Linked DNA regions of Homo sapiens: regions 2, 3 and 4 are each linked to region 1. Evidence: promoter capture Hi-C in 16 types of primary human blood cells and fetal thymus (Javierre and others, 2016). All regions are on one chromosome and are shown on one strand. Each heading gives the region's core, a stretch centred on a gene start or on the middle of the fragment in contact. The rest is flanking DNA. Distances are from core to core; before and after follow the strand shown.

Region 1 (7,327 bases), core at 4,629-7,128:
TTTAGTAGAGACGGGGTTTCACCATGTTGGCCGGGCTGGTCTCAAACTCCTGACCTCAAGTGATCCACCTGCCTTGGCCTCCCAAAGTGCTGGGATGACAGGCGTGAGCCACCACTCCTGGCCATTATTTTTTAAATTAAAAAATTATGGCCAGAAGGTGAAAATAGAAAAGCTCCCATCCTATGTACCCATTTTCCTGACGTGGCAAACTAAGGCCTTAAGGGATAGGGTGGAGTATTTGTTGGATATGCAAGCAATTTCTCCTCTCTGAGCCTCAGTTTCCTTTTTTATTTATTTTTTGAGACAGGCTGTCACTCTGTCACCCAGGCTGGAGTGCAGTGGTATGATAATAGCTCACTGCAGGCTCAGACTCCTGGGCTCAAGCAATCCCCCTGCTTCAGCCTCCTGAGTTGCTGAGACCACGTGTGACACATCACACATGGCTAATTTTTTTTTTAATTTTTTTTGGCAGGTGGGTGACGCCTGTAATTCCAGCACTTTGGGAGGCCAAGGCAGGCAGATCATTTAAGGTCAGGAGTTGGAGACCAGCCTAACCAACATGGTGAAACCCTGTCTATACTAAAAATACACAAAAATTAGCCGGGGGTGGTGGCGCATGTCTGTAGTCCCAGCTACTCAGGAGGCTGCGGCAGGAGAATTGCTTAAACCCAGGAGGCGGAGGTTGCAGTGAGCTGATATCGTGCCACTGCATTCCAGCCTGGGCGACAGAGCAAGACTCCATCTCAAAAAAATAAACAGGCTGGGCCCGGTGGCTCACGCCCATAATCCCAGCAGTTTGGGGGGCTGAGGTGGGCAGATCACTTGAGGTCAGGAGTTTGAGACCAGCCTGGCCAACATGGTGAAACCCCATGTCTACTAAAAATACAAAAAAATTAGCCAGGTGTGGTTCCTGTAATCCTAGCTACTCAGGTGGCTGAGGCAGGAGAATTGCTTTAGCCCAGGGCACGGAGGTTACAGTGAGCCAAGATCACGCCACTGCACTCCAGCCTGGGCGACAGAGTAAGACTCTATCTCAAAAAAAATAAATAAATAAATTTTTTTTTGTAGAGATAGGTTCATCCTATGTTCCCCAAGTTGGTCTCAAACTCCTAGGCTCCAGCAATCCTCCTGAAGCCCTGGGATTACAGGTATGAGTCACCACATCCGGCCAGTTTCCTCATTTTTAGGTGGGGCTGGTAATAGTGCCTACCTTGGGGGGTCAGCTACAAAGATTCTGGGGCTCTGCTACTCCTTGGCTGTGTGACCTAAGACAAGTTACTCAGCCTCTCTGTGCCTCATCTTTTTCACCTGTGGAATGGAGCGAATCATCGCAGCTGGTGTGAAGATTAACAATTTGTATATAGGAGTTGGCACAGGGCCAGTCTGGGGTAAGAACTCAAACATCAGCCATTGTTGGCGTTGTGCAAAAGTACTTGGAACACCGCTGGCCTAAAGGAAGGTTTTCCTGGCCAGGTGTGGTGGCTCACGCCTGTAATCCCAGCACTTTGGGAGGCCGAGGCAGGCAGATCACGAGGTCAGGAGATCAAGACCATTCTGGCTAACACGGTGAAACCCCGTCTCTACTAAAAATACAAAAATTAGCTGGGCATGGCGGTACGTGCCTATAGTCCCAGCTACTCCGGAGGCTGAGGCAGGAGAATTGTATGAACCTGGGAGGCGGAAGTTGTAGTGAGCCGAGATTGTGCCACTGCACTCCAGCCGGGGAGAAAGAGCATGACTCCGTCTCAAAAAAACAAAAACAACAACAGCAGCAACAAAAGCAAGAAAGGTTTTCCTTAGTTAACACTTTCTTCTTCTTTCAATCTTTATCTCATTTAAGTCTCACCTCAATGCTGTGTGATGAGTGTGATCATCCCCATTTTACTAGACGAGGAGACAGAGGCTCAGCCAGAGATCATTGTTCCCCCGGTTTACATGGAACAGAAATGGCAGGGCCAGGATTTAAACCTAGATCTGCCTGGCTCCCCGCCCGGCTCCATCCCCTGCCCTCCCCCAACACACATAGTATTTACCGGGTGCTACCCTGTTCTAAGCCTTTTCTGGGGGATTATACAGTAATCCTCACCACAGCCTTAAAGTAGGGTACCCTGTGAGTCTCGTTTGACAGACTAGAAATCTGAGGTCCAGAGAGGTTACTTCTTGGCTCAGAGGGTCACACAGCTAGCAAATGACCCAGCTGAGATTTGTCCCTGCTGGCCTGGCTCCAGTCCCTGCACTGCCTGTGGTAAGCGTGTAGCAGATCCAGATCCAATGTCCAGCGTCGTGAGGCCAAAAAAATGGGGGGCAGGGGGAAGGCTCTGCTGCCCCTCGATCCTGTGCTGTTGAAATAGCTGGAGCTAGCACTTTGGAAGGCCGAGGCGGGTAGATCACCTGAGGTCAGGAGTTCGAGACCAGCCTGGCCAACATGGCGAAACCCTGTCTATACTAAAAATATAAAAATTACCTGGGCGTGATGGTGCACACCTGTAATCCCAGCTACTCTGGAGGCTGAGGCAGGAGAATCATTTGAACCCGGGAGATGGAGGTTTCAGTGAGCCGAGATCATGCCATTGCACTCCAGCCTGGGCAACAGAGACACTGTCTTTTTTTTTTTTTTTTTAGGGGATGGAGTTTTGCTCTTGTTGCCCAGGCTGGAGTGCAATGACGCCATCTTGGCTCACTGCAACCTCCGCCTCCCTGGTTCAAGTGATTCTCCTGTCTTAGCCTCCTGACAAGCTGGAATTACAGGCCCATGCCACCAAGCCCGGCTAATTTTTGTAATTTTAGTAGAGACACGGTTTCATCATATTGGTCAGGCTGGTCTCGCCCTCCTGATCTCAGGTGATCCGCCCTCCTGATCTCAGGTGATCCGCCCTCCTAGGCCTCCCAAAGTGCTGGGATTATAGGCATGAGCCACCACTCCCAGTGAGATGCTGTCTTAATTAAAAAAAGGAAGAAAGAAAGAAATAGCTGGAGCTTGGCACAGTGGCTCATGCCTGTAATCCCAGGACTTTGGGAGGCCAAGGCAGGAGGATCGCTTGAGGTCAGGAGTTCAAAACCAGCCTGGGCAATATAGGGAGACCCCCATCTTTACAAAAAACAACAAAAAGTAGCTGGGTATGGTGGTGCATTTGTAGTCCCAGCTACCTGGGACTTGGGAGGCTGAGGAGGGAGCATTGCTTAAACCCGGGAAATCAAGGCTGCAGTGAGTTACGACTGCCACTGCACTCCAGCCTGGGTGACAGAGTGACACCTGTCTTTTAAAAAAGCTAGAGTAGGCCGGGCATGGTGGCTGACGCCTATAATCCCAGCACTCTGGGAGGCCGAAGTGGGTGGATCACCTGAGGTCAAGAGTTCAAGACCAGCCTGGCCAACATGGGAAACTCCATTTCTACAAAAATATAAAAATTAGCAAGGCATGATGGTGGGTGCCTGTAATCCCAGCTGCTTGGGAGGCTGGGGCGGGAGAATCGCTTGAACCTGGGAAGCGGAGGTTACACAATGAGCCAAGATCGTGCCACTGCACTCCAGCCTGGGCAACAGAGCAAGACTGTCTTAAAAAAAAAAAAATGCTGGAGTAGTTAGGATATGAGTTTGAATTTTTATTTCCATGATTCAATCAGCACCTATTCTCCCAAATGCCTTCTCTGCGTTGGGCCTGTGCTAGGTGGCACTGGGGACACAGTGGAGACTGACATGGCCCCTGGCCGCCTCCTCCCTTCTTGGGGCTCATAGTCTAATATGGGACTGACCTGTCTCCCCACACTGATGACCCAGAGTTGGCAGGGCTGGATGTGGGAGCCCAAGAGCCTGGAAACCTGGGAAATAAGAAAGGGCTTCCTGGAGGAGGAAGCATCAGCACTGGGGCTCAGACAACAGGGAAGTAGAGGGCACGTTGGCTGCAATTCGGAGGGAGCGCGGAGCTGTGCCGAGTCTGGAGTTTGGTCCACGGACCAGCAGCGCCCTCTGCTGGAAGCATTTCATAGTGTAGTGACCGGGGTACCGCGCGCATTGAGCCATGTATGTATGTATGCATTTATTTATTTTTGAGATGGAGTTTCGCTCTTGTTGCCCAGGCAGGAGTGTAATGGTGTGATCTCGGCTCACTGCAACCTCTGCCTCTGGGGTTCAAGCGATTCGCCTGCCTCAGCCTCCCAAGTAGCTGGGATTACAGGCGTGCGCTACCACACCCGGCTAATTTTGTATTTTTAGTAGAGATAGGGTTTCACCATGTTGGCCAGGCTGGTCTCGAACTCCTGACCTCAAGTGATCCAGCCCCCTCGGCCTCCCAAAGTGCTGGGATTACAGGTGTGAGCCACTGCGCCGTCCTCAAGTTATATTAGAATCGTGTCCTCCCAGCTTTGGCCAGCTTACTATTCTAGGACTTGATTCCTTCATTCAGTCACAATTTATTGAGCACCGACTTTGCATCAAGCTCTTGCTGAAGATAACAGTGCTGACAATATACAGCCCTGCCCTCAGAGCTTATATAGTAGAGGAGAAAAAGTGAACCCATAATATACAGTCAGTAGCGAGTATTTACTAAGTACTTTCTATTTGCGAGGCCCTGATAAAAGTACTGTCCTGGCCAGGCGCGGTGGCTCACGCCTGTAATTCCAGCACTTTGGGAGGTCGAGGTGGGCAGATCACCTAAGGTCAGGAGTTCGAGATCAGCCTGGCTAACATGGGGAAACCCCGTCTCTACTAAAAATGGAAAAATTAGCTGGGCATGGTGGCGGGCGCCTGTAATCCCAGCTACTCGGGAGGCTGAGACAGGAGAATGACTTGAACCCAGGAGTTGCAGTGAGCCAAGATAAGATAGCGCCATTGTACTCCAGCCTGGGTAACACAGCGAGACTGTGTCTCAAAAAAAAAAAAAAAAAAAAAAAAGTACTGTCCCTGTATTAGTTAACATTCAATTCTCAAAGCCTTAGACTATTTATATTTTATTGACTAGGGAAACTGAGGCACAGAGAGGTTAAGTTACTTGCCCAAGGCCTGCACAGCAAGTAAGTGCCGGAATCAAATTTGAACCCTGAGCCCAATTCTTAGATATCACATTCCCTTGCCAATAACATAATATATAACATAACATAATGATGTGATATATGTTATATAAAATAACTTTAGGGGCCGGGGGCGGTGGCTCACTCCTGTAATCCCAGAACTTTGGGAGGCCGAGGCGGGAGGATCACTTGAGGTCAGGAGTTTGAGACCAGCCTGGCCGACATGGCGAAACCCCGTCTCTACTAGAAATATAAAAAGTAGCCGGGCGTGGTGGCAGACACTTGTAGTCGCAGCTACTCGGGAGACTGAGATGGGAGAATCGCTTGAACTTGGGAGGTGGAGGTTGCAGTGAGCCGAGATCGCGCTACTGCACTCCAGCCTGGGTGACGGAGCGAGACTCCCTCTCAATAAATAAATAAGGTAATTTTAGGCCCTGAAAAGTTTTGTGAACAAAATCAAGAGGAGTATGTAATGTTTTGGTGGAAGGGTGCCATTTAGAAGGGGGCAATCAGGGAAGGCCTGCCGGAGGAGGTGGCCTTTGAGAAGAGACCTAAAGACGATGAGATCTGTGGGAAGAGAGATCGAAGCAGGCCACACAACCAAGGAAAAGGCTCTGGGGCAGGCACTGCAAGAAAGCCACCTGTCTGGGATCTAAAGTTTCCAAAGTTTTAGCTTGGCCAAGGCCCCTGCGCTACAATCACCCTGATTCGAGGTGTCCTGGAGGTTACCAGTTCCGCGTGCGAAGTTCTGCCATTCCCGCGGGGCTGGAGCCCCGAGGCTGAACTTCCCACGGGCGGTGGGCGTGGCCGGCTCACCTGCGGGGGCGTGGCTCCCGGCTGCCCCGCCCCTCGGAGGAGCCGCCCGAGGTCCCAGACGCCCGGCGCAGCGGGAGCGGCGGGGCGTGCCTGGCCTGCGGGACGCGACTGATCGCAGTGGGGCGAAGCGGGGCCGGAGCCGCCCGCGGTCAGGTGGGTGCCGGGAGTGGGGCGCGGGACTCTCGGAGAGCCGCGATGATGGGGGGCGGGGGCAACCCTGGGCCCGCTCGCCCTGAGACGGGGAAGGGCCTTGGGGCTCCCGGATGCCCCCTGCCCCGTCCTGGGGCTCTCCGGGATCTGGAGGCCTGGCTGGGGTCCCATGCCCCCCACCCCAGCGCAGGTAAACAGCGAGGACGGGGCGGGGCCTGGGAGGGAGAGGGAGGGGGCCCTTGTGACTGCGGGTGAGCCTGGTGCGCGGGGCTGGGCAGGCCAGGGTAAGTTGGTGCGGCTTGCGGGGCTGGGCCACGATGGGAGTCTCCTGCCTGCCTGTGTTTGTGTGTGTGTGTGTGTGTGTGTGTGTGGCTTTGCGTGTGTGTAAGAGAGTGTGTCAGGCTGTGGGTATGAGGGTGAAAGCGACTGTCCGTGTAACCCTGTGATGGGACTGTGTGTATGATGTGACACTTTTAGCAATGTGAAAACGTGGGCGACCTCTGACTGGAATGGTGTGTGTGTAGAATTGGATTGCTGGTAGCACTTTACGACCAAGAGCTAGTGCGACTGTAGTCGACTTTCTGCTTGGCCTGATGTGCATGTGTGTGGCTGTGTGTGTGGCTGTCTTCATGGCAGAGAGTGGAACTGGTTGTAGGATTAGGTGTGATTGACCAAGAGGCTGTGCGGCTGTGGTTGTCTTTCTGCCTGTTGGTGTGTGTGTGTGTGTGTGTGTGTGCGCGCGCGCGTGTGGTGGACAGTGTGGCACTGGATCAGTGATAGGTGACTATGATTGACTTTTGATTGTGTGTCACTGTGATGGTGCATGGGGCTGGGCGGAACTGTGTCCAGAAGTGGAGCTGTTTCATGGGACGGTGCGCGTGGAACCTTGGGGTTGGATGAGTGAGGTGTGGAGGTGTGTGAAGCCGTGTGTGCGTGTGTGTGTGTGTGTGTGTGTGTGTAGAGAGGAACTAGAGGGTGTGTGATCTGCATTGATACCGTGGCTGGCAGTGGTGTGCAACGGAGAGTTTGTGGGAGATGGGAGTGGAGACGTGGACATTTAAGTGGGATGCTCCTCCAAGCGGGTGACAGGATGGAAAAGGGGGTCCGCGTCAGGGATCAGTGTGTGGGACTGTGCCTATGATTATCAGCTGTGCGGTTGTGCACCCGGGGCTCTGTGTGAGTGTGGGAGCTGCTGTGTGTCTGGGACACAGCCCGAGTGCTGGATGGCTGTGGTTGAGCCGTGTTTGTTGCTGTGGTTGTCAATCTGGCTGTGGAGTGGTGTGTGTAAGGCTGTGTCTGAGGTTATAGAGGGAGGTTTTACATCGGCAAAATTGTGTGAAGAATGGTTGTGGTTG
Region 2 (7,023 bases), core at 2,480-4,979, 340 kb before region 1:
TCGTCCTGCCTCAGCCTCCCTAGTAGCTGGGACTACAGGCACATGCCACCACACCCAGTTAGTTTTGTATTTTTAGTAGAGACGGGGTTTCACCACGTTGGCCAGGCTGGTCTTGAACTCCTGACCTCAGGTGATCCGCCTGCCTTGGCCTCCCAAAGTGCTGGGATTACAGGCATGAGCCACTGCACCCAGCCTCAACAAACATTTTTGAGGCCTGGCATTGGCAAGAGGCAGAGAGGAATCAGGAGAGCTTCTGGTCCTATAACAATTGGAGCTGCTATTTGTCATCCTTATCATAAGCCAAGCACTAGTGTAAGTGCTGCATGTGGTTGGCTTCATCCATTACATTTAATATTATTCAGTGTCCTCGTCACCTTACTGGTCCATCACTCTGCCCTCATCTCTACCCCTTTCCTGTCAGTCACTCTGCACCAGCCTTCTTGCTATTCCTTAAGCATGCCATGCATGTTCCTACCACAGGGCCTTTGCACGTGCTAGCCCCTGTGCTTTGAACACTCTCCCCCAGATATCCACATGAATCCCTCACCTCCTTTGACTCCCTGTTCAAATGGCACCTCTCAGACCCTGATCTTCCTAACCCAAACTATCTTCCGAACTCCTTCTCGTTATCCTGCTCTATCCTGTAATACTGCCATCACCATCAGACATAATATTTGCTTATCTGTTTTCCATCTGTCTCCTCACTTGGATTTCCTTGATGGCAAGGGCTTTTTGTCTGCTGTGTGCCTTGCTATGTCCCTAGCTTTTAGAGCAGTGCCTGACACTGTTACGCTGTGTGTAATAACTGTAAATTGAAGAGCCAGGCACAGTGGCTCACGCCTGTAATCCCAGCGCTTTGGGAGGTTCGGGCAGAAGGATCACTTGAGGCTAGGAGGTCAAGATCAGCCTGGGCAACAGCAAAATCCCATGTCTTAAATAAAAGAAAGAAGACCGGGTGTGGTGGCTCACGCCTGTAATCCCAGCACTTTGGGAGGCCAAGGCAGGCGGATCACGAGGTCAGGAGATTGAGACCATCCTGGCTAACACGGTGAAACCCTGTCTCTACTAAAACTACAAAAAATTAGCCAGGCATGGTGGCGGGCGCCTGTAGTCCCAGCTACTCGGGAGGCTGAGGAGCAGAATGGCGTGAACCCGGGAGTAGGAGCTTGCAGTGAGCCGAGATCGCGCCACTGCACTCCAGCCTGGGTGGCAGAGGAAGACTCCATCTCAACAAAAAAAAAAAAAGAAAGAAATAGGGCTGGGCACAGTGGCTCACGACTGTAATCCCAGCACTTTGGGAGGCCAAGACAGGCGGATCACCTGAGGTCAGGAGTTCAAGACCAGCCTGGACAACATGGTGAAACCCCATCTCTACTAAAAAAAAAAAAAAAAAAAGAAAGAAAGAAATGTAGTCCCAGCACTTTGGGAGGCTGAGGTAGGCAGCTCGCTTGAATCCAGGAGTTTGAGACCAGCTTGGGCAACATGGTGAAACCTCATCTCTGCTAAAAACACAAAAATTAGGCCAGGCATGGTGGCGCACACCTGTGGTCCCAGCTCACCAGCTGTGTGGCCTCAGGCAACTGACTTCATCTCTCTGAGCTTCAGTTTCCCGTCTGTAAAGTGGGTCTAATAATAGGACGGTCATGAGTATTAAATAAAATGATGTTAATAGTTAGTTGCCCTTTGGCCAGGTGCACTGGCTCAGCCTAAGCAACAGATCCTCTCTCTACAAAAATAGAAAACAGGCTGGGCGCAGTGGCTCATGCCTGTAGTCCCAGCTACTTGGGAAGCTGAGGCAGGAGAATCGCTTGAACCCGGGAGGCAGAGATTGCAGTGAGCTGAGATCGCACCACTGCACTGCAGCCTGGGTGACAGAGCGAGACTCCATCTCTCAAAAAAAAAAAGAAAGAAAAGAAAAGAAAACATTAGCCGGATGCGGTGGTGTGTGCCTGTAGTCCCAGCTACTCTGGAGGCTGAGGTGAGAGGATCCCCTTAGTCCAGGAGGTTGAGGCTGTGGTGAACCATGTTCCTGCCACTGCACTCCAACCTCGGTGACAGAGTGACACCCTGCCTCAAAAAAAAAAAAAAAGTTCACATTTGTATATAGCACCCACATGTGCCAGGCCCTGTTCTAAGAATTTTGTGTTTTAAATATTTGTGTCTATTAATTTGTGTGACCTTGGAGAAATTAATTTTGCCGGGTTTCAGTTTTCTCATCTGCTATGTGGGGATCAATAACACCATATACTTCACACAATTGTTGTGAACATTCAACTTACAGAGTTATTTCTTTTTCTTTTTGAGACAAGGTCTCACTCTGTCACCCAGGCTGGAGTGCAATAGCGTCATCACAGCTCACTGCAGCCTCAACCTCCCAGGCTCAAGCAATCCTCCTGCCTCGGCCTCCCAAAGTATTGGGGTTACAGGTGTGAGCCACCGTGCCTAGCCAGAACACCCAAATTTTATACAAGCAAAGGAAAGACAACAAACCCTGCATCTGTGGTCTGAGAGCGCCTGGCATCCAACTTAGAACCTAATAGATCACCTAGTCGTTCTCAGGAATATGAGAGGCTTAGGAATGTGATCTAGCCAAATGGCTGCCCCTCTTTCAGCCTGAGTCCCTTCTGCAATAATCCTATCATATGCTTCTGGCGCTGGTGATAGGGATGAGCTCAGGGTTTAGGCACACAGCTCAGGATGTATACGGAGGCTACACTGCTGCCATTCGCAGACTGAATAACTGAGCTTTTGAGCTCAAAGTGGTCTGGGCTATTTATGGGTAACTTTCAGGGGCTGCAGGGAGGAACAAACCAATAAATAAAACATCCATGCATTCATCCAATAAACTTTTTTTTTTTTGAGATGGGAGTCTCGCTCTGTTGCCCAGGCTGGAGTGCAGTGGCACGATCTCAGCTCACTGCAACCTCCGCCTCCCAGGTTCAAGCTATTCTCCTGCCTCAGCCTCCGGAGTAGCTGGCATTACAGGCGCACACCAACACGCCCAGCTAATTTTTGTATTTTTAGTAGAGATGGGATTTCACCATGTCGGTCAGGCTGGTCTCGAAATCCTGACCTCGTGATGTGCCTGCCTCGGCCTCCCAAAGTGCTGAGATTACAGGCATGAACCACCGCGCCCGGCCTCCAATAAACATTTATTGGGCACCTACGGTGTTCCAGGCGCTGGTCTAGGCGTTGGGGTTACAACAACGCACAAAACATAAATTCTGAAGCTGACACGCTAGCTTTAAACGTTCCTTAAATATCTTCATCCTCAATTTACGGTTGAGGAAACTGAGGTGTAGCGAGACCTTGGAGGTTTCCGAAATATTATTATGGATGGCAGGTGTAGAGCCCTGCCAACCTCTCGATCCTGAAGCTCCCCTTCCAGCCTGAGAAACGGCAGGTTCAAGTCCCACTGGGAGACCAAAGCGGGGAGCGGCTCAGTTTGCCGGCTTGCTCAATGGGTAAGGCGTGATGGCTCTAAGCAGGCCTCAGTTGTCTCGTCCAGAGCAATGGGCAGCGACGCCTGCCCAACCCCTCCTGAGCGCCCAGCCTCCCTTTCCCGGCCGGCCCCGCCCCCGCGATCACGTGACGCGTGGGGGTTTTCCCGTTCCCCAGGCGTGACGTCACGGCGGGGTGCAGACCAATGGGCGCGCAGGCCGGCGGCGCCGGGGAATTCCGCCGCCCCGCCCCCGCCCGCCGCCCGCCCGGCCCGGCCCCGCGCCCCGCGCAGCCCCGGGCGCCGCGCGTCCTGCCCGGCCTGCGGCCCCAGCCCTTGCGCCGCTCGTCCGACCCGCGATCGTCCACCAGACCGTGCCTCCCGGCCGCCCGGCCGGCCCGCGTGCATGCTTCGGTCTGGGCCAGCCTCTGGGCCGTCCGTCCCCACTGGCCGGGCCATGCCGAGTCGCCGCGTCGCCAGACCGCCGGCTGCGCCGGAGCTGGGGGCCTTAGGTAAGCGGGGCTGGGGTTCAGGAGAGGGGTCTGGGGCGGGGCTGGAGATGCGGGGATTCTGGCGGTCCCGGAGTAGTCTGGGGGTTCCTATGGGAGTCTAAGGGTTTCGCGGGGGCAGAGTGAGGGTTCCTGAGACACTGTATTAGGGCGTAGGAAGAAGGCAGAGGGTGATGAGGGGGTACGGCCCGAGGTTCGAGCGAGGCGTCCCGCTGTAGAGTGAGAGGGGGCGGGGCCTGACCCTGAGGCAAAGAAGGGGGCGTGGCCTGACTCAGAGAAGGCGGAGCGAAAGCTGCTCTTGGGCGGTATCGGGGCGGGGCCGGGCCCAGAGAGGGAGAAGAGGGGCGGGATCCGACCCGGACTATGAGAAGAGGGCCGGGCCTGACTCAAAAAAGGAAGCAGGGCCCTACGCTGAGGGGTGAGGGGGCGGGGCCTGGCCGTGAGGGCAGGAAGGGGGCGGGGCCTGAGTTGGCCGAAAGAAGGGGAAGGGGCGGGGCCTGACTCTGGCCGAGTGGAGGGGAAGGGCCTGTTACCCAAAAAAGCAGGGCGGGGCCCGACACAGAGAATGAGGAGGGGGTGGGGCTTGCCTCCAGACGGAGAAGCGGAGCCTTGACATTGAAAAAATTAAAAGTGGTCTGACCCTGACAGGAGGATGTTTTTTTTTGTTTGTTTTTTGTTTTTTTCTTTTGAGATGGAGTCTCGCTCTGTCGCCCAGGCTGGAGTGCAGTGGCACGATCTAGGCTCACTGCAACCTCTGCCTCCCGGGCTCAAGCAGTTCTCCTGCCTCAGCCCCCCGAGTAGCTGGAATTACAGGTGCCCGCCACCACACCCGGCTAATTTTTGTAGTTTTACTAGAGACGGGGTTTCACCATGCTGGTCAGACTGGCCTCGAACTTCTGACCTCAGGTGATCCGCACGCCTCGGCCTCTCAAAGTGCTGGGATTACAGGTGTGAGCCCTTGTGCCCAGCGGGATGGGGACTTTTTAAACTGAGATTGAGATGGGGTCCCCTCCAGGCCCAACTTTAAGGGAGAAAAGGAGCGGGCCCTGAGTGTGATGAAGGGTGGGGCGAACCACAGAAACTAAAGGCCAGGACCTGTCCATGATTTAGCTGGTAAGCCTGGCCAGACGCAGGGGGGCAGTCAGGGCGAGGGGCCTGATCCAGAGGGGAAGGGCTAGAAGAGGAAGGGGTGGGGCTTCCTTGGGATATTCTCTGGTCCTCTGGCTGCCCCCCATCACCTCCTGAGACGTTTCTCCTTCTCTGCAGGGTCCCCCGACCTCTCCTCACTCTCGCTCGCCGTTTCCAGGAGCACAGGTGAGCAGCCCTCCACAGTTCCTGCCCACTCGCTCATGCAGGATGAGGTTGGGAGGACTCCACAGAGATGTCTCTGTTTGGGGGTTCACGAGGTCCACCTCAGCTTTCTCCTGACAGGGTGCATCCCTCCCTGCCAGTTGAGATGGGCCCCCTAGGTTTTCTTACCTCTTGGACTGTTAAGAGCGTGACAGGTGGCCGGGCGCGGTGGCTCACGCCTGTAGTCCCAGCACTTTGGGAGGCCGAGGCGGACGGATCACGAGGTCAGGAGATCGAGACCATCCTGGCTAACACGGTGAAACCCCGTCTCTACTGAAAATACAAAAACAAAATTAGCCGGGCGTGGTGGCGGGCTCCTGTAGTCCCAGCTACTCGGGAGGCTGAGGCAGGAGAATGGCGTGAACCTGGGAGGCGGAGCTTGCAGTGAGCCGAGATCGCACCACTGCACTCCAGCCTGGGAGACAGAGCGAGACTCCGACTCAAAAAAAAAAAAAAAAAAAAAAAAAGCGTGACAGGTAAATCTTACCACCTATCCATGCGCAAAGGCTTCTTTAGAGATTCACTGTGGCTTAGTAGAAGGTAATCACTGCCATCCTGGGCTTTGGAGCTGGGGTTTACATACTGCTGTCATCGCCCCTCCCTGTGTGAATGTCTGCAAGTCAGTTCCCCAGTTCAGGCCTCAGTTTTCCTCATCTGTAAGATGGACAGAATAACAGTGCCTCTCTTTCAGGGAAATTGAGAGTATTCAATGAATTGATACAGGTACACTTTCCAAGCAGTATCTGGCACACAGTAAGGGTTCAGTAAGTGTTAACTGTTAGTGGTATAATAATAATAACGATAATAATTATTATTACTAGACAGTCTATAACAGTGGTTCATTTTTGGTGTGTGTGTGGGTTTTTTTTGTCTGTTTTTTGTGTTTTTTTTTTTTTTTTTTTTTTTTTTGAGACAGAGTCTCGCTGTGTCACCCAGGCTGGAGTACATTGATGCGATTTTGACTCACTGCAATCTCCACCTCCCGGGTTCAGCAATTCTCCTGCCTCAGCCTCCTGAGTAGCTGGGATTACAGGCACCCGCCACCACAACCCACTTTGTGTCTTTAGTAGAGATGGGGTTTCACCATGTTGGCCAGGCTGGTCTTGAACTCCTGACCTCAGGTAATCCGCCCGCCTCAGCCTCCCAAAGTGCTGGGATTACAGGTGTGAGCCACCTCGCCTGGCCAGACAGTGGTTCTTTTTTTTTTGAGACGGAGTTTCATTCCTGTTGCCCAGGCTGGAGTACAATGGCGCGATCTCGGCTCACTGCAACCTCCACCTCTCAGGTTCGAGCAATTCTCCTGCCTCAGCCTCCCAAGTAGCTGGGATTACAGTCATGTGCCACCACGCTCAGCTAATTTTTTGTATTTTTAGTAGAGACAGGGTTTCTCCATGTTGGTCAGGCTGGTCTCGAACTCCTGACCTCAAAGGATCCGCCCTCCTCGGCCTCCCAAAGTGCTGGGATTACAGGCGCGAGCCACCGTGCCTGGCCAGACAGTGGTTCTTAAACCATGTGCATCAGAATCATCCATAGCGCTAGTTAAAACATAATGTCGCCTGATGTGGTGGCTCATGCCTGTAATCCCGGCACTTTGGGAGGCCGAGGTAGGCTCATCACCTGAGGTCGGGAGTTCTAGACCAGGCTGACCAACATGGAGAAACACCATCTCTACTAAAAATACAAAATTAGCTGGGCGTGGTGGCGCATGCCTGTAATCCCAAATAT
Region 3 (7,378 bases), core at 4,766-7,265, 370 kb before region 1:
GAGCCTTTGTTTACTCCTCTGCAAAATAGATATTCCTTTTATTTTTTTTTTGCTTTTTGGAGATGTATTTTAGCAAAATAAGAGACCACACCATGCAGTTAGGCAATCAGCTTCCCTACTTATGAGATAGAAGGAATTGCACAGCAGAGATGTTTACAACAATCATCCCGCCAGGTGCGGTGGCTCACGCCTGCAATCCCAGCACTTTGGGAGACCGAGGCAGGCAGATCATGAGGTCAAGAGATCGAGACCATCCTGGCCAATATGGTGAAACCCCATCTCTACTAAAAATACAAAAATTAGCTGGGTGTGGTGGCACAAGCCTGTAGTCCCAGCTACTCGGGAGGCTGAGGCAGGAGAATCACTTGAACCTGGGAGGTAGAGGTTGCAGTGAGCCAAGATCGTGCCACTGCACTCAAGCCTGGCGACAGAGCAAGACTGAGTCTCAAAAAAAAAAGAGAAAATAAAAATAAAACAATCATGGCTGGGCGCGGTGGCTCACGCCTGTAATCCCAGCACTTTGGGAGGCCAAGGCAAGCAGATCACGAGGTCAGGAGATCGAGACCATCCTGGCTAACACAGTGAAACGCCGTCTCTACTGAAAATACAAAAAAATTAGCCAGGTGTGGTGGCGGGCGCCTGTAGTCCCAGCTACTCAGGAGGCTGAGGCAAGAGAATGGTGTGAACCCAGGAGGCGGAGCTTACAGTGAGCCCAGGTGGTGCCACTGCACTCCAGCCTAGGCGACAGCGAGACTCCGTCTCAAAAAATAAAACAAAAATAAAAAAATAAAACAATCATTCCTTTGGCTAGAATGTCTTCACATGGCCATGGCCAGCTGCACGGGAGGCTGGGAAATGTGGTCTTTAATCTGGGAAACTGAGCACCCTGCTGGAAAGCAGGGCTCCTATTACTGAGGAAGAAGAGGAGAGTGGTTATGGGGGGCAGCTACTTATCTCTTCCATAAAATCTTATTACTGGTTTCCCTTAGCTTATAAATTATGAGTGTTTATTTTACAAAATTAAGTAGTTCAAACAATACGAAGAGTGAAAAGAAAAAGCTAATGAAAAAGTGTAATGTGGGCCGGGCGCGGTGGCTCACGCCTGTAATCCCAGCACTTTGGGAGGCCGAGGTGGGTGGATCACGAGGTTAGGAGATCGAGACCATCCTGGCTAACACAGTGAAACTGCATCTCTACTAAAAATATAAAAAATTAGCCGGGCATGGTGGCAGGCGCCTATAGTCCCAGCTACTCGGGAGGCTGAGGCAGGAGGATGGCGTGAACCTAGGAGGCGGAGCTTGCAGTGTGCCAAGATGCCGCCACTGCACTCCAGCCTGGGTGACAGAGCGAGACACAGTCTCAAAAATAAAAAAGTGTAATGTGTTGGTGGCCATCCCATAGGCACACATTTTTGTAATTGGCCCTAAATGGGATTATATATAGATGCTCACAGATAGAGTTGTTTAAAATAGAGAAAAGTTAGGAGGCGGGGGGCAGGTAGTGTCAGATAGCGTGTAAGAGCACAGCCCTGCTGACATCTCAGCCCTGCCACCTCTGAGCTCTGTGGCCTGGTCAGGTTATCACCCTTCTTGAGCCTCATTTTCCACCTCACAGACAGGGAATCTTGACAATTAGCTCAGGGTGCATCAGAAGGATTCCAAGAGAATTCATGTCAACTGAGGGGTGCAGGAGCTGGCACGCACACAGACAATGTTGGCCATGATTCCTTTTGTTGTTCAACGTGGAAAAAAAAAAAGCCTGAGCAACACAGTAAGACCCCCATCTCTCTCTCTCTCTCTCTTTTTTTTGGGAGACAGAATCTCGCTCCGTCGCCCAGGCTGGAGTGCAGTGGCGCGATCTCGGCTCACTGCAAGCTCCGCCTCCTAGGTTCACGCCATTCTCCTGCCTCAGCCTCCCGAGTAGCTGGGACTACAGGCGCCCGCCACAGCGCCCGGCTAATTTTTTGTATTTTTAGTAGAGACAGGGTTTCATCGTGTTAGCCAGGATAGTCTCGATCTCCTGACCTCGCTATCCACGCACCTCGGGCTCCCAAAGTGCTGGGATTACAGGCGTGAGCCACCGCGCCTATCCTGACCCCATCTCTGTAAAAAACTAAAAAATTAGCTGGGTGTGATGGCGCACACCTGTAGTGCCAGCTATTAGGGAGGCCGAAGAGGGAGGATCGCTTGAGCCCAGGAGGTCAAGGCTGCAATGGGCCGTGATGATACTACTGCACTCCAGCCTAGGCAACAGAGTGAGACTGTATCTCAAACAAACAAAAACCTTAGGAAATATATAGTGAAACAGTGAAAAAAAAAAGTTCATGAGGCCGGGTGCAGTGGCTCACGCCTGTAATCCCAGCACTTTGGGAGACCAAGGTAGGTGAATCACCTGAGGTCGGGAGTTCCAGACCAGCCTGACCAACATGGAGAAACCCATCTCTGCAAAAAATACAAAATTAGCCGGGCATGGCGGCTTATGCCTGTAATCCCAGCTATTCAGGAGGCTGAGGCAGGAGAATCGCTTGAACCCGGGAGGCGGAGGTTGCAGTGAGCCGAGATCATGCCATTTTACTCCAGCCTGGGCAACAAGAGTGAAACTCTGTCCCAAAAAAAAAAAAAAACAACTCATGATCCCTGATGTAGTCACTGATCACATTCTAGACTAGAGCAGAACTGCCTGCCTGGTGTCCTCCAAGAGTGTCACACAGGACACTGAGAAACTGCAGGAAAGAAACCTCCCCACTCTGTTAAGTTGCAAAACTGACATGTGTGCCTCAAAAATTCCTGCCATGTGCCCTACGCTTCTCAGTCATGCGCCCCTGTCCCTTACCGTCTCCACTTCACCTCCCCTCCCCATGGCCACGTAAAGACTTCAGATTTTCTTATATATCACCTTCTTTTTTTTCATGCTGCAAGCAGCTCTGCATGAAAATTATTTTTATCTTTCCCTTCATTTTTACATAAGAGGTAGCCTGTTTTACACACTGTTCTGCTCCTTGATTTTTTTCATTAACAATATATCTTTGAAATCTTTCCACGTCAGTGCATAGGGAGCTTCCTTCAGAGAGACATTTTTAATACAAGTCACACTGTAGGCTAATTTCCTTTCTTAGAACTAGGCAGCATCAAACATCAGTTCGGGTGGGTGCTCGGAGACCATCTTGGCTGCAGTTCTTAAAATGGGATCCAGGGTTTGTTTTCAGGGGCCCATGAACTCCTTGTAGCTTGAAGCTGATTATGTGGGAATAGCCTTTCTAGATAGCGGGTGGCGTCTGTGTTTTTGAGCACATGTGGTTACCTGGAGTGGGAGGTGGAGCAGGAACTGGGTATATAAAGGAATGGGGTGGGAGGGAGAGTTTTGATTATACGTCTTTTCATATATTTAAAAATGTTCTGAACCTGTGACTGTAGAATACCTATTTGGGTGGGAGAAAGGATTTAATGTCTGTTTTCTTTGCTTACTCAAGTACATCAGGAAGCATTAGAAAGGTCCAGTCTCCTGCAGGCCTGGGTGCATGGATGAGGGGCCATGGCCATGAGCCCTCTGAGAGGGTCCACAGAACTGTGGGCGTGTGGATACACACAGGACGTTCTTCAGGGGACTGGGGATCTGGAATCCAAAAAGGCCTGGCCTTGTTTTATACATGGGGATCTAGAAGCCCAGAGGGGTTAGGACCCCCACAGCCACACACTAAGCCAGGGGCAGAGCTGCCTGGGGGCATCACTGCTTCTACACTCTCCCCTGGTGTGTTTACTAAAATGAGAGCCTCTGCTGGAGGCATCGGTATCCCCAGAGATTGCCAGGTCCAGACCTTCCCCAGACGTGCATATCAGGGACTTCATGGGGAGGTAGCGATGGCTCAGCTGGACCGTGGCCCCTAAGACCCTGGACCCCAGGGCCTTGTGGCTTCTACAGGCAGAGGCAAGTTCCTGTGCCTGATCCTGCCCCTGATCAGGGCTCAGCAGGGAGGCACCCCACCCACACTAGAATTTACTCATAGTGTTTTTCTGCTCCAAAGTTTTTTGTATGCCTTTTTCCTATGATTAAAATAACAGTAATAGCTAACACTTCTCAGTCACTTACTGGGTATGCACCAGGCTCCATTCTGAGGTACGTGTGCGTGTGTCAGATGTATATACACGCTATATAAACATATATATAATTTAATGTGTTTAATGCTTATAAACTACCCTATGAGAGTAGGCACTGTTATTATCCCCATTTCAACCATTGAAGTTGACCACTGAGGTCACAGTAAGTAGCAGAGCTGGGCTTCAGATGAAGATACTGTAGTTTAGAGGCTGGGCTCATAACCTCTTCTGCTGTATGGTTATCATACCTATAATTAATAAGTACTTGAATCATTTAATCACATGGCTGCATGCAGCTGAGAAACCTCCATTAACACAGTACAGGTTCATTTCTCTCTGATATACCAGTCTGGATGGAGGCAGACTAGGATTCTGCAGTCTTCAGTGACCCAGACTCCTTGCTGTTTGTTGTGCCATTGCTAGGTTTTTCCCTTTATCCTCATAGCCCAAGACAGCTGCTGAAGATTCAGCCATCACATCCACACTCCAGGCAACAGGAGAGAAGAATAAATCAAGAAGGAATATTTCTTCTCTTTAAGGACACTTTTTTTTTTTTTTTTTTGAGATGGAGTCTTACTCTGTCACCCAGACTGGAGTCCAGTGGCATGATCTCGGCTCACTGCGACCTCCACCTCCCAGGTTCAAGCGATTCTTTTGCCTCCGCCTACCAAGTAGCTGGGATTACAGGCGCCCGCCACCACGCCCGGCTAATTTTTGTATTTTTAGTAGAGATGGGGTTTCACCATGTTGGCCAGGTTGGTCTCGAACTCCTGACCTCAAGTGTTGGCTTCCCAAAGTGCTGGGATTATAGGTGTAAGCCACCACGCCCAGCCTCGTTTTGGTTTTGGTATCTGTTGTTGCTGCTGATTCTCGCTCATAATGTCGTTTCCTTTTGTGCCTGGCTTATCTCTGTCTGTGTCCTAGTCATTATACTTGAAAAGTTATTTGTAGGAATTTCAGGGCTAGGATGAGCATATTTTCCTACAGAGAGGATTGCCTTTGCTTCTGCCTGGGGGCATTACCAAGTCCTAGGTTTCCTTGCACCAGGTTCAGGGCTTGAGCTGCCCTTCGTGACTCCTTATCCCACGAGTGGCCTTGCATACTTCGCCCTGCATACCTGTTGTGCAACTCCTGGGAATGGGTAGGCCACCTGGTTCCTTCCTTCTCAGGGGTGGAGGCTTGCACCTTGTGGGGTCTTAGTTTCCTATAGGGTAGGTCTCTGGTTACCTCATATGTTGTATGTGCCCTGGGCTAGCATTTTTTTTTTTTTTTTTGAGACAGGGTCTCACTCTGTTGCCCAGGCTGGAGTGCAGTGGCATGATCGTGGTTCACTGCAGCCTCGACCTCCTGGGCTCAGGTGATTCTCCCACCTCAGCCTCCTGAGTAGCTGGGAATATAGGCATGGTGCGTGCTGCCATGCCTGGCTAATTTTTGTATTTTTTGTAGAAACTGTGTGTTGCCCAGGCTGGTCTCAAACTCCTGGGCTCAAGCAATCCACCTACCTCAGCCTCCCAGCGTGCTGGGGTTACAGGTGTGAGCCACCGCGCCCAGCCTAGGCCAGCATTTTTGTCACCCACCAAAACACCTAGCAGATGTCCTCGGACACATGAAGAAGCTTATAGGGCTCCTTTACTTATTCTTTTTTTTTTTTTCCCCTAGACCTGCAAATCCAAGATCCTTTACTTCTTTTTTTTTTTTTCCTTGAGATGGACTTTTTGCTCTTGTTGCCCAGGCTGGAGTGCCATGGCACGATCTCGGTTCACTGCAACCTCCTTCTCCTGGGTTCAAGCGATTCTCCTGCCCCAGCTTCCCGAATAGCTGGGATTACAGGCATGCACCACCACTCCTGGCTAATTTTTGTATTTTTAGTAGAGATGGGGTTTCACCATGTTGGCCAGGCTGGTCTTGAACTCCTGACCTCAGGTGATCCACCCACCTCGGCCTCCCAAAGTGCTGGGATTACAGGCTTGAGCCACCGCGCCCGGCCGATCCTTTACTACTTTAGGATTCCCACTTTCCCTTCAGTTTTTGCCTGAAGGTTTGGTAACCTACAGTCGTGTCCATTCTTCAGAGCTGTCTATTTATATATATTCATATGTAAACTTGATAAAAATTACATGCATGAGAACAAATACGAGAATACGTGAGCAGCATATATTCTCATTCTATCAATATGTATAATTACAAATATAAAATATATTGATATTTTCTTAGTGTATTAATTTTATCAAGCTTTTCCAATTTTTTCCAGTGAGAGGGTTGGTCTGAATAATTAAGCCCACTGTTACTAAAATTGGAACTAACGTATCACTTACTATCTGCTTCTCCAAAAATTCTCCAAAAGTTCAGAAATGTTGCTCTTTCTAAGCTTCTGTGCCTTCGGTTCTTTTCCTTTTCTTTTTTAAAAAATTTAATTAATTAATTGATTAATTTTTTTGGGACAAGCTCTCTATCTCCCAGGCTGGAGTGCAGTGGCGCAATCACGTCTCACTGCAGCCTTGACCGTCAGGGCTCAAGTGACTCTCTCACCTCAGTCCCCCAAGTAGCTGGGACTACAGGCATGGGCCACCATGCCCAGCTAATTTTTATATTTTTTGTAGAGACGGGATTTCATCATGTTGCCCAGGCTGGTCTCAAACTTTTGAGCTCAAGCAATCCGCCTGCCTCAGCTTCCCAAAGTGCTGGGATTACAAGCATGAGCTGCTACACCTGACCCAATTATACTTTTTTTTTTTTTTTTTTTTTTGAGATGGAGTCTCACTCTGTTGCAAGGCTGGAGGGCAGTGGCGCAATCTCGGCTCACTGCAACCTACGCCTCCCGGGTTCAAGTGATTCTCCTGCCTCAGCCTCCCAAGTAGATGGGACTAGAGGCACGCACCACCAGGCCCAGTTAATTTTTGTATTTTTAGTAGAGACAGGGTTTCACCATGTTGGCCACGATGATCTCGATTTCTTGACCTCGTGATTTGCCCACTTCAGCCTCCCAAAGTTACAGGCATGAGCCACTGTGCCTGGCCTCTATACTTCTTAAGTTATTTTAAAATGTGTAATTAAATTACTATTGACTAGAGTTGCCGTGTTTTGCTACCAAATACTAGATCTCATTCATTCTTTTTTTTTTTGAGATGGAGTCTCGCTCTGTTGCCCAGGCTGGAGTGCAGTGGCGCGATCTTGGCTCACTGCAACCTCTGCCTCCTGGGTTCACACCATTCTCCTGCCTCAGCCTCCGGAGTAGCTGGGACTACAGGCGCCCGCCACCATGCCCAGCTAATTTTTTTGTATTT
Region 4 (7,060 bases), core at 4,290-6,789, 300 kb before region 1:
GAAACCCCGTCTCTACTAAAAATACAAAAATTAGCCGGGCGTGGTGGTGGGCGCCTATAGTCCCAGCTACTCGGGAGGCTGAGGCAGGAGAATTGCTTGAACCCGGGAGGCAGAGGTTGCAGTGAGCCAAGATTGTGCCATTGCACTCCAGCCTGGGCAACAGAGCAAGACTCACTACAGGCACCCGCCACCATGCCCGGCTAATTTTAGTATTTTTAGTAGAGACCGGGTTTCGCCGTGTTGGTCAGGCTGGTCTCGGACTCCTGACCTCAGGTGATCCGCCCACTTCAGCCTCCCAAAGTGCTGGGATTGCAGGAGTGAGCCACCACGCCCAGCCAAGACTCCATCTTTAAAAAAAAAAAAAATAGGCCTGGCACAGCAGCTCACACCTGTAATCCCAACACTTCGGGAGGCCAAGGCAGGCAGATCACTTGAGGTCAGGAGTTCAAGACCAGACTGGCCAACATATAGTGAAATCCCATCTCTACTAAAAAAATACAAAAATTAGCTGGGCGTGGTGGCGCACACCTGTAATCCCTCCTACTTGGGAAGCTGAGGCAGGAGAATCACTTGAACCTGGCAGGCAGAGGTTGCAGTGAGCCAAGACCGTGCCACTGCACTCCAGCCTGGTCAACAGAGCAAGACTGTCTCTAAAAATAAATAAATAAATAAATAAATAAAGGAATTAATTATTATTGATGAATTACTTCTTGTGTGTCCCTGGTATCTCCTTAACAGACAGCTACGGCGTGGACAAGAAGCGGAAACGGGGGATGCCCGACGTCCTTGGGGAGCTGAACAGCTCTGGTGTGTGCCCTCTGCCCCTTTCCACCCCCATCCCCAGGTTCTGGGGAGGGGACAGCTGACCCCACTGCCCTGTCCCACCCCAGGCTGGGGAGGAAGGGCTGTCGGGGAACAGGGGTCCTCATCTCTGCCTTCCCTCAGACCCCCATGGCATCGAGAGCAAACGGCGGAAGAAAAAGCCGGCCATCCTGGACCACTTCCTGCCCAACCACGGCTCAGGTGGGTCCCAGCTACACATAAGCCCCTGTCCCCTGGGTGGGCAGAGGGTAAGTGGCAGCCCTGCTTTTCTGGCCTCTTCACGCCCTCCAAGAGCAGCCACAAGGCGAGTCACTCAGCACTTAGCCAGCAACATAGAGTAGAAAGAATGAGGGCTTTGGAGACAGAATGGAAGTTCTGATCTCTTCTGGGCCATTTCCTTGCTATGTGAACTTCATTAAGTTGTTCTACCTCTCAGAGCCTCAGGGACTCCTTTGAAAAGGCCCAGTACATACTTAGCTCAGTGGTGTTTTAAAATTTGATCTATTTCTTCTTTCTTTTTTTTTTTTTTTGGAGATGGAGTCTCGCTCTGTCGCCCAGACTGCAGTGCAGTGGCATGATCTCAGCTCACTGCAACTTCTGCCTCCTGAGTTCAAGCGATTCTCCTGCTTCAGGCTCCCAAGTAGCTGGGACTAAAGGCATACACCACCACACCTGGCTAATTTTTGTATTTTTTAGTAGAGACGGTGTTTTACCACATTGGCCAGGCTGGTCCTGAACTCCTGACCTCAGGTGATCTGCTTGCCTCAGCCTCCCAAAGTGCTGGGATTACAGGCATGAGCCACTGCATCCCACCTATGATCACATTTAACTGCATTTACAGCAAAACCCAAAATAACAGGGGCTTCAACAGGATAGAACGTTATTTCTTGTCTCACATACATAGTCTGTAGGGACTGAAAGTGGCTCATGCCTGTAATCTCAGCACTTTGGGAGGCTGAGGCAGGTGGACTGCTTCAGTCCAGGAGTTTGAGACCAGCCTGGCCAACGTGGTAAAACCCTGTTTCTACTAAAAATACAAAAATTAGCCGAGTGTGGTGGTGCACACCTGTAGTCCCAGCTACTTGGAGGCTGAGGCAGACAAATCACTTGAACCCAGGAGGTGAAGGTTGCAGTGAGCCAAGATTGCACCACTGCACTTTAGCCTGAGCAACAGAATGAGACCCTTCTCAAAACAACAACAACAACAACAACAAAACAGGCCTGGCACTGTGGCTTACGCCTGTAATCCCAGCACTTTGGGAGGCCAAGGCAGGTAGATCACGAGGTGAAGAGAGAGAGACCATCCTGGCCAACATGGTGAAACTCCATCTCTACTAAAAACACAAAAATTAGCTGGATGTGGTGGCACATGCCTGTAGTCCCAGCTACTTGGGAGGCTGAGGCAGGAGAATCATTTGAACCCAAAAGGTGGAGGCTGCAGTGAGCCAAGATGGTGCCACTGTGTTCCAGCCTGTCAACAGAGCAAGACTCCGTCTCAAAAACAAGAAACAAAAAACAGTCCATAGGTAGGTGTTCCAGGGATGGTCTGGTGACTGCATGATCATCGAGAGACCGAGGCTTCTGCCATTTTCAGTTCGCCAACTCATGGTGCAAGGTGGCTGTTGTAGCTCCAGCCATTACGCCCACGTTCCAGTTAGCAGACCTTAGTCACATGATCACATCAGGCTGCAAGGAAGGCTAGAAAATAGTCCCTTGTGTCTCTAAGGTTTGTCTTGTTCCAAAAAGAGAGTCCCTCTTTTTTTTTGAGATAGTCTTGCCCTGTTGCCTAGGCTGGAGTGCAGTGGCACAATCTCAGCTCACTGCAATGTCCACCTCCCAGGTTCAAGTGATTCTCCTGCCTCAGCCTCCTGAGTAGCTGGGATTACAGGTGCCCACCACCATGCCCTGCTAATTTTTGTATTTTTGGGAGAGAAGGGGTTTCGCCATGTTGGCCGGGCTGGTCTTGAACTTCTGACCTCAGGTAATCTGCCCGCCTCGGCCTGCCAAAGTGCTGGGATTACAGGCGTGAGCCACCATGCCTGGCCTGAGAATCCCTCTTATAATGAAACTTTTTGATTTGATTGTTATTTTTTCTTAAGTCCCCATTATGCCTGAGAATGACATTTATTTTTTCTGACAATTTTGGGACTGGTGACTTCCCAACTTGTGTCTCCCATGGTCTGGAGATTTCACTTTTTGGGTTGTCTCTGTATGTTGGGGGGCTTTGGAACCTCTTCTCCTTTCTCACTCTCAGGGAAAACTCTCCACAGCTGTGTAGGAGCATGGTTTCAACCCCAGTTCCACAACAGCTGTGTGAGCCTTCCATTTACTTTCCCTCAGTGCCTTAGTTTACTTATTATTAATTATTTTTAGAGATAAGGTCTTGCTCTGTTGCCCAGGCTGGAGTGCAGTGGTGTGATCATACTTCGCTGCAGCCTCAAACTGGGCTCAAGCAATCCTCCTGCCTCAGACTGCCAGGTAGCTGGGACTACAGGCGGGCACCACCACACCCAGCTAACTTTTAAATAATTTTTTTGTAGAGACAGGGTCTCGTCACGTTGTGCTGGGATTACAGGTGTGAACCACCACGCTTGGCCTTCAATTTACTTATTATCTGAGAATGGTGATAGTCCCACACGGATTCTCCTTGGGATTAAGAGGGCACCTAAGGCCAGGCTTGGTGGCTCACACCTGTAATCCCAGCACTTTGGGAGGCCGAAGCAGGTGGATCACCTGAGGTCAGGAGTTCGAGACCAGCCTGGCAAACATGGTGAAACCCCGTCTCTACTAAAAAGATAAGAATTAGCTGGGCATGGCACATGCCTGGCCTGTAGTTCCAGCTACTCAGGAGACTGAGGCAGGGGAATCAACTTGAACTGGGGAGGCAGAGGTTGCAGTGAGCCAAGAGCACGTCATTGCACTCCAGCCAGGGTGACAGAATGAGACTCCATCTCAGAAAAAAAAAAAAAAAGGCCACCTTGATATCACATTTTGCAGGGAGTAGGGCATTTGATTTAGGGCCTGATCAGAAGTTAGCCCTAAATCACACTACACTTCTCTTGTCTTCATCCCCGTAGGCCCGTTCCTCCCGCCGTCAGCCCTGCTGCCAGACCCTGACTTCTTCTCTGGCACCGTGTCCCTGCCCGGCCTGGAGCCCCCTGGCGGGCCTGACCTCCTGGACGATGGCTTTGCCTACGACCCTACGGCCCCCACACTCTTCACCATGCTGGACCTGCTGCCCCCGGCACCGCCACACGCTAGCGCTGTTGTGTGCAGCGGAGGTGCCGGGGCCGTGGTTGGGGAGACCCCCGGCCCTGAACCACTGACACTGGACTCGTACCAGGCCCCGGGCCCCGGGGATGGAGGCACCGCCAGCCTTGTGGGCAGCAACATGTTCCCCAATCATTACCGCGAGGCGGCCTTTGGGGGCGGCCTCCTATCCCCGGGGCCTGAAGCCACGTAGCCCCGCGATGCCAGAGGAGGGGCACTGGGTGGGGAGGGAGGTGGAGGAGCCGTGCAATCCCAACCAGGATGTCTAGCACCCCCATCCCCTTGGCCCTTCCTCATGCTTCTGAAGTGGACATATTCAGCCTTGGCGAGAAGCTCCGTTGCACGGGTTTCCCCTTGAGCCCATTTTACAGATGAGGAAACTGAGTCCGGAGAGGAAAAGGGACATGGCTCCCGTGCACTAGCTTGTTACAGCTGCCTCTGTCCCCACATGTGGGGGCACCTTCTCCAGTAGGATTCGGAAAAGATTGTACATATGGGAGGAGGGGGCAGATTCCTGGCCCTCCCTCCCCAGACTTGAAGGTGGGGGGTAGGTTGGTTGTTCAGAGTCTTCCCAATAAAGATGAGTTTTTGAGCCTCCGGGGTTTCGTCTGTTCTGGGCTTGGGAAACGCCCTAGTCCCTTAGTAGCAAAGAAAGCCTCCAGGCTGGGGGCTCAGGCCTGTCATCCCAGCACTTTGGGAGGCCAAAGCAGGAGGATCGCTTGAGCTCACGAGTTTGAGACCAGCCTGGGCAACATGACGAAACCTAGTCTCTACAAAAAATACAAAAATTAGCCGGGCGTGGTGCTGCGCGCCTGTAATCCCAGCTACTCTAGAGGCTGAGGTGGGAGGATCGCTTGAGCCCAGGAGGTGGACGTTGCAGTGAGCCAAGACCGCACCACTGCACTCCAGCTTGGGCGACAGCGCGAGGCTGTGTCTCAAAAAAATAAAAAATGAAAATGAAAATAAAAAATGAGACCGGGCATGGTGGCTCATGGCTGTAATCCCAGCACTTTGGGAGGCCGAGGCAGGTGGATCACCTGAGGTCAGGAGTTTGAGACCAGCCTAACCAAAATGGTGAAACCCCATCTCTACTAAAAATACAAAAATTAGCCGGGCTTGGTGGCGCGCGCTTGTAGTCCCAGCTACTCGGGAGGCTGAGGTGGGAGAATAGCTGAAACCCAGGAGGCAAAGGTTGCAGTGAGCCTAGATCGCGCCACTGCCTTCTAGCCTGGGAGACAAAGAGAGACTCCGTCTCAAAAAAATAAAATTAAATAAATAAATAAAATAAAAAAGATAAAAAGATAAAGCATCCAAGCTCTTCCCTTCTCCGCTCTCCCACTTCTTCCTCGGGATCCCGCCCCTCTCGACTCTAGGACCCGCCTCTCTCGTCGGCGGAAGTGCGCTGCGCGGCCCTCCACCATGCTCCGCCCCCTCCCCCTAGCGCGGCCTTTCATTTCCGCTTCCGGTGCGGGCCGCGCGCGAGCGCAGCGGTGGGAGGCGGCGACCAGCCGGTGAGTGCAGGCTGCGGCTCGACCTCCCGGTTTTCGGGCAGGCCTCAGCCCAGCTTCTCCCTTTCCTCAGGCTCTCCCCATGCTGCTGTGGGCTTCTGCTGCGTCCCGGCCCCGAGGATCGCTCGTCCCTCACCCCATTAGGCCTGACGGGCCTCAGGCCGAGCCCGTGCCCCGGCTGTGGGCCAGAAGTTGCCGCGTCGAACTCGGCCTTCGGCCCAGCAGCTTATCACAGGCCCCGCCCCCTTGTCAAAAAAAAAAACAACAAAAAAAAAACCCAGCCCAAATCCTCAGGCCGCGACGCGATCCACAAGCCCCGTCCAAACCTTCGGTCTCCGCCCTTTCCCGCAAGCCCTGCCCCCAAGCTCAGCCCACGCCCTCCTGTCAGCCAGCTCCGCCTCTCTCAGGCTCTACGCTCTTTTTCTTTGGATGCTCTCCCCACCCCGCCATCTAGATCCCATCTTTAGACCTCAGCTTCACTCTGGTCTCCTTGCAACACTCCCTCCCCGTGTTCCCACTCCCTCTAGCATCTTCATCTTCCGCCACGCCCTTCACCTGTCCTCGACCTCCACCTTCATACAACTGCACTGTTCCCTTAAAAGCTTTCTCCGATTTCCTCCACCTGCCTTCATCCTTATTCTCCTTATCCCTCTACCACCCAGACTCATACCCAACCCCACGCATGGCCCCTAGTGGGAGCCTTTTCAGTTCTTCTCTTTCTCTTGAGCTCCAGCCTTAAGTGCTCAGGGTTTGCCTTCTGACCCTACTTCAAACACTGCTGATGTTTCAAAACCTTTCATTCCCGACTCCAGCGCGTGGAATCTAGGACACCCCTTTCCCAGTGATGCTCACCTCAGAATCACCTGAGGGTTTTTCAGAATGCCCAAGCTTCTAGATCGAAGTTGTTAGGGATGGACTTGAACATCTGGCATACTGTTCTGCAGCTTCACTTCTGCTCCCTGAAGCTAAGAGATGTGTTGTTTGGGATCGACTCTGCCACCAACTTGTTAGATGACTTTGATTCTGCCCATACGGGTTTCACAGACCATCTGACTTTCCTGGTCCCTTCATCCCTCAGGTTGAGGCCCCAGGCTTGGCCTCACCACAATGTGGCACGAGGCTCGGAAGCATGAGCGGAAGCTTCGAGGCATGATGGTCGACTACAAGAAGAGGGCGGAGCGGAGACGGGAGTATTATGAAAAGATCGTGAGTAACTGGCCTTTTGTCTGGGGTGAGGGACCCTGGGTTGGGGGGCACAGCTGGTCATCCTGGTAAAATCTGGGCTTGGAAGTATGTCAAGACAAGAGGCTCATTTCCTCAGGAGTATATTCATTAATCTTTTCTTGAGGATAATCATTGGTGGGATCCCAAGGGCTTCTGTTTGTTGTAGCATACTGTGTCGTTTGGTGTGGCCTCCCAGTGCCGATCCGGTGTTAGCAAGAAAAAGGGAAGTCTCTGTA

The links. The method cuts DNA at HindIII sites, captures the fragments that hold promoters and counts their contacts. A CHiCAGO score of 5 or more calls a contact.
Region 2: a contact is called between the fragment with the promoter of RELB here and the fragment with the promoter of KLC3 in region 1, in 1 of 17 cell types (M2 macrophages). The highest score is 5.0, in M2 macrophages.
Region 3: a fragment that was not itself captured here is called in contact with the fragment with the promoter of KLC3 in region 1 in 1 of 17 cell types (M1 macrophages); the score reaches 5.0 in M1 macrophages.
Region 4: a contact is called between the fragment with the promoter of CLASRP here and the fragment with the promoter of KLC3 in region 1, in 1 of 17 cell types (M0 macrophages). The highest score is 5.6, in M0 macrophages.

What each region holds. Positions count from the first base shown.
Region 1 is chr19:45,334,872-45,342,198 of GRCh38, forward strand. KLC3 (kinesin light chain 3) reads left to right here and starts at 5,879. Exons shown (of 13, transcript NM_177417.3): 1 at 5,879-5,975. RefSeq lists a silencer at 5,775-5,864. The HindIII fragment of the contact is 17,587 bases long and covers 1-7,327 here.
Region 2 is chr19:44,997,735-45,004,757 of GRCh38, forward strand. RELB (RELB proto-oncogene, NF-kB subunit) reads left to right here and starts at 3,730. Exons shown (of 12, transcript NM_006509.4): 1 at 3,730-3,951; 2 at 5,215-5,262. The coding sequence starts at 3,846. RefSeq lists silencers at 3,554-3,963, 4,284-4,563. The HindIII fragment of the contact is 31,053 bases long and covers 1-7,023 here.
Region 3 is chr19:44,965,050-44,972,427 of GRCh38, forward strand. All of the region lies in intron 2 of CLPTM1 (CLPTM1 regulator of GABA type A receptor forward trafficking), which reads left to right. Among named protein-coding and RNA genes, the nearest start is that of CLPTM1, 13 kb to the left of the region's middle. The HindIII fragment of the contact is 617 bases long and covers 5,708-6,324 here.
Region 4 is chr19:45,033,506-45,040,565 of GRCh38, forward strand. It overlaps CLASRP (CLK4 associating serine/arginine rich protein), which reads left to right and starts at 5,540. Exons shown (of 21, transcript NM_007056.3): 1 at 5,540-5,603; 2 at 6,679-6,806. The coding sequence starts at 6,708. It overlaps RELB (RELB proto-oncogene, NF-kB subunit), which reads left to right. Exons shown (of 12, transcript NM_006509.4): 10 at 739-807; 11 at 946-1,023; 12 at 3,900-4,687. The coding sequence ends at 4,285. RefSeq lists an enhancer at 5,214-6,083. The HindIII fragment of the contact is 10,693 bases long and covers 1-6,200 here.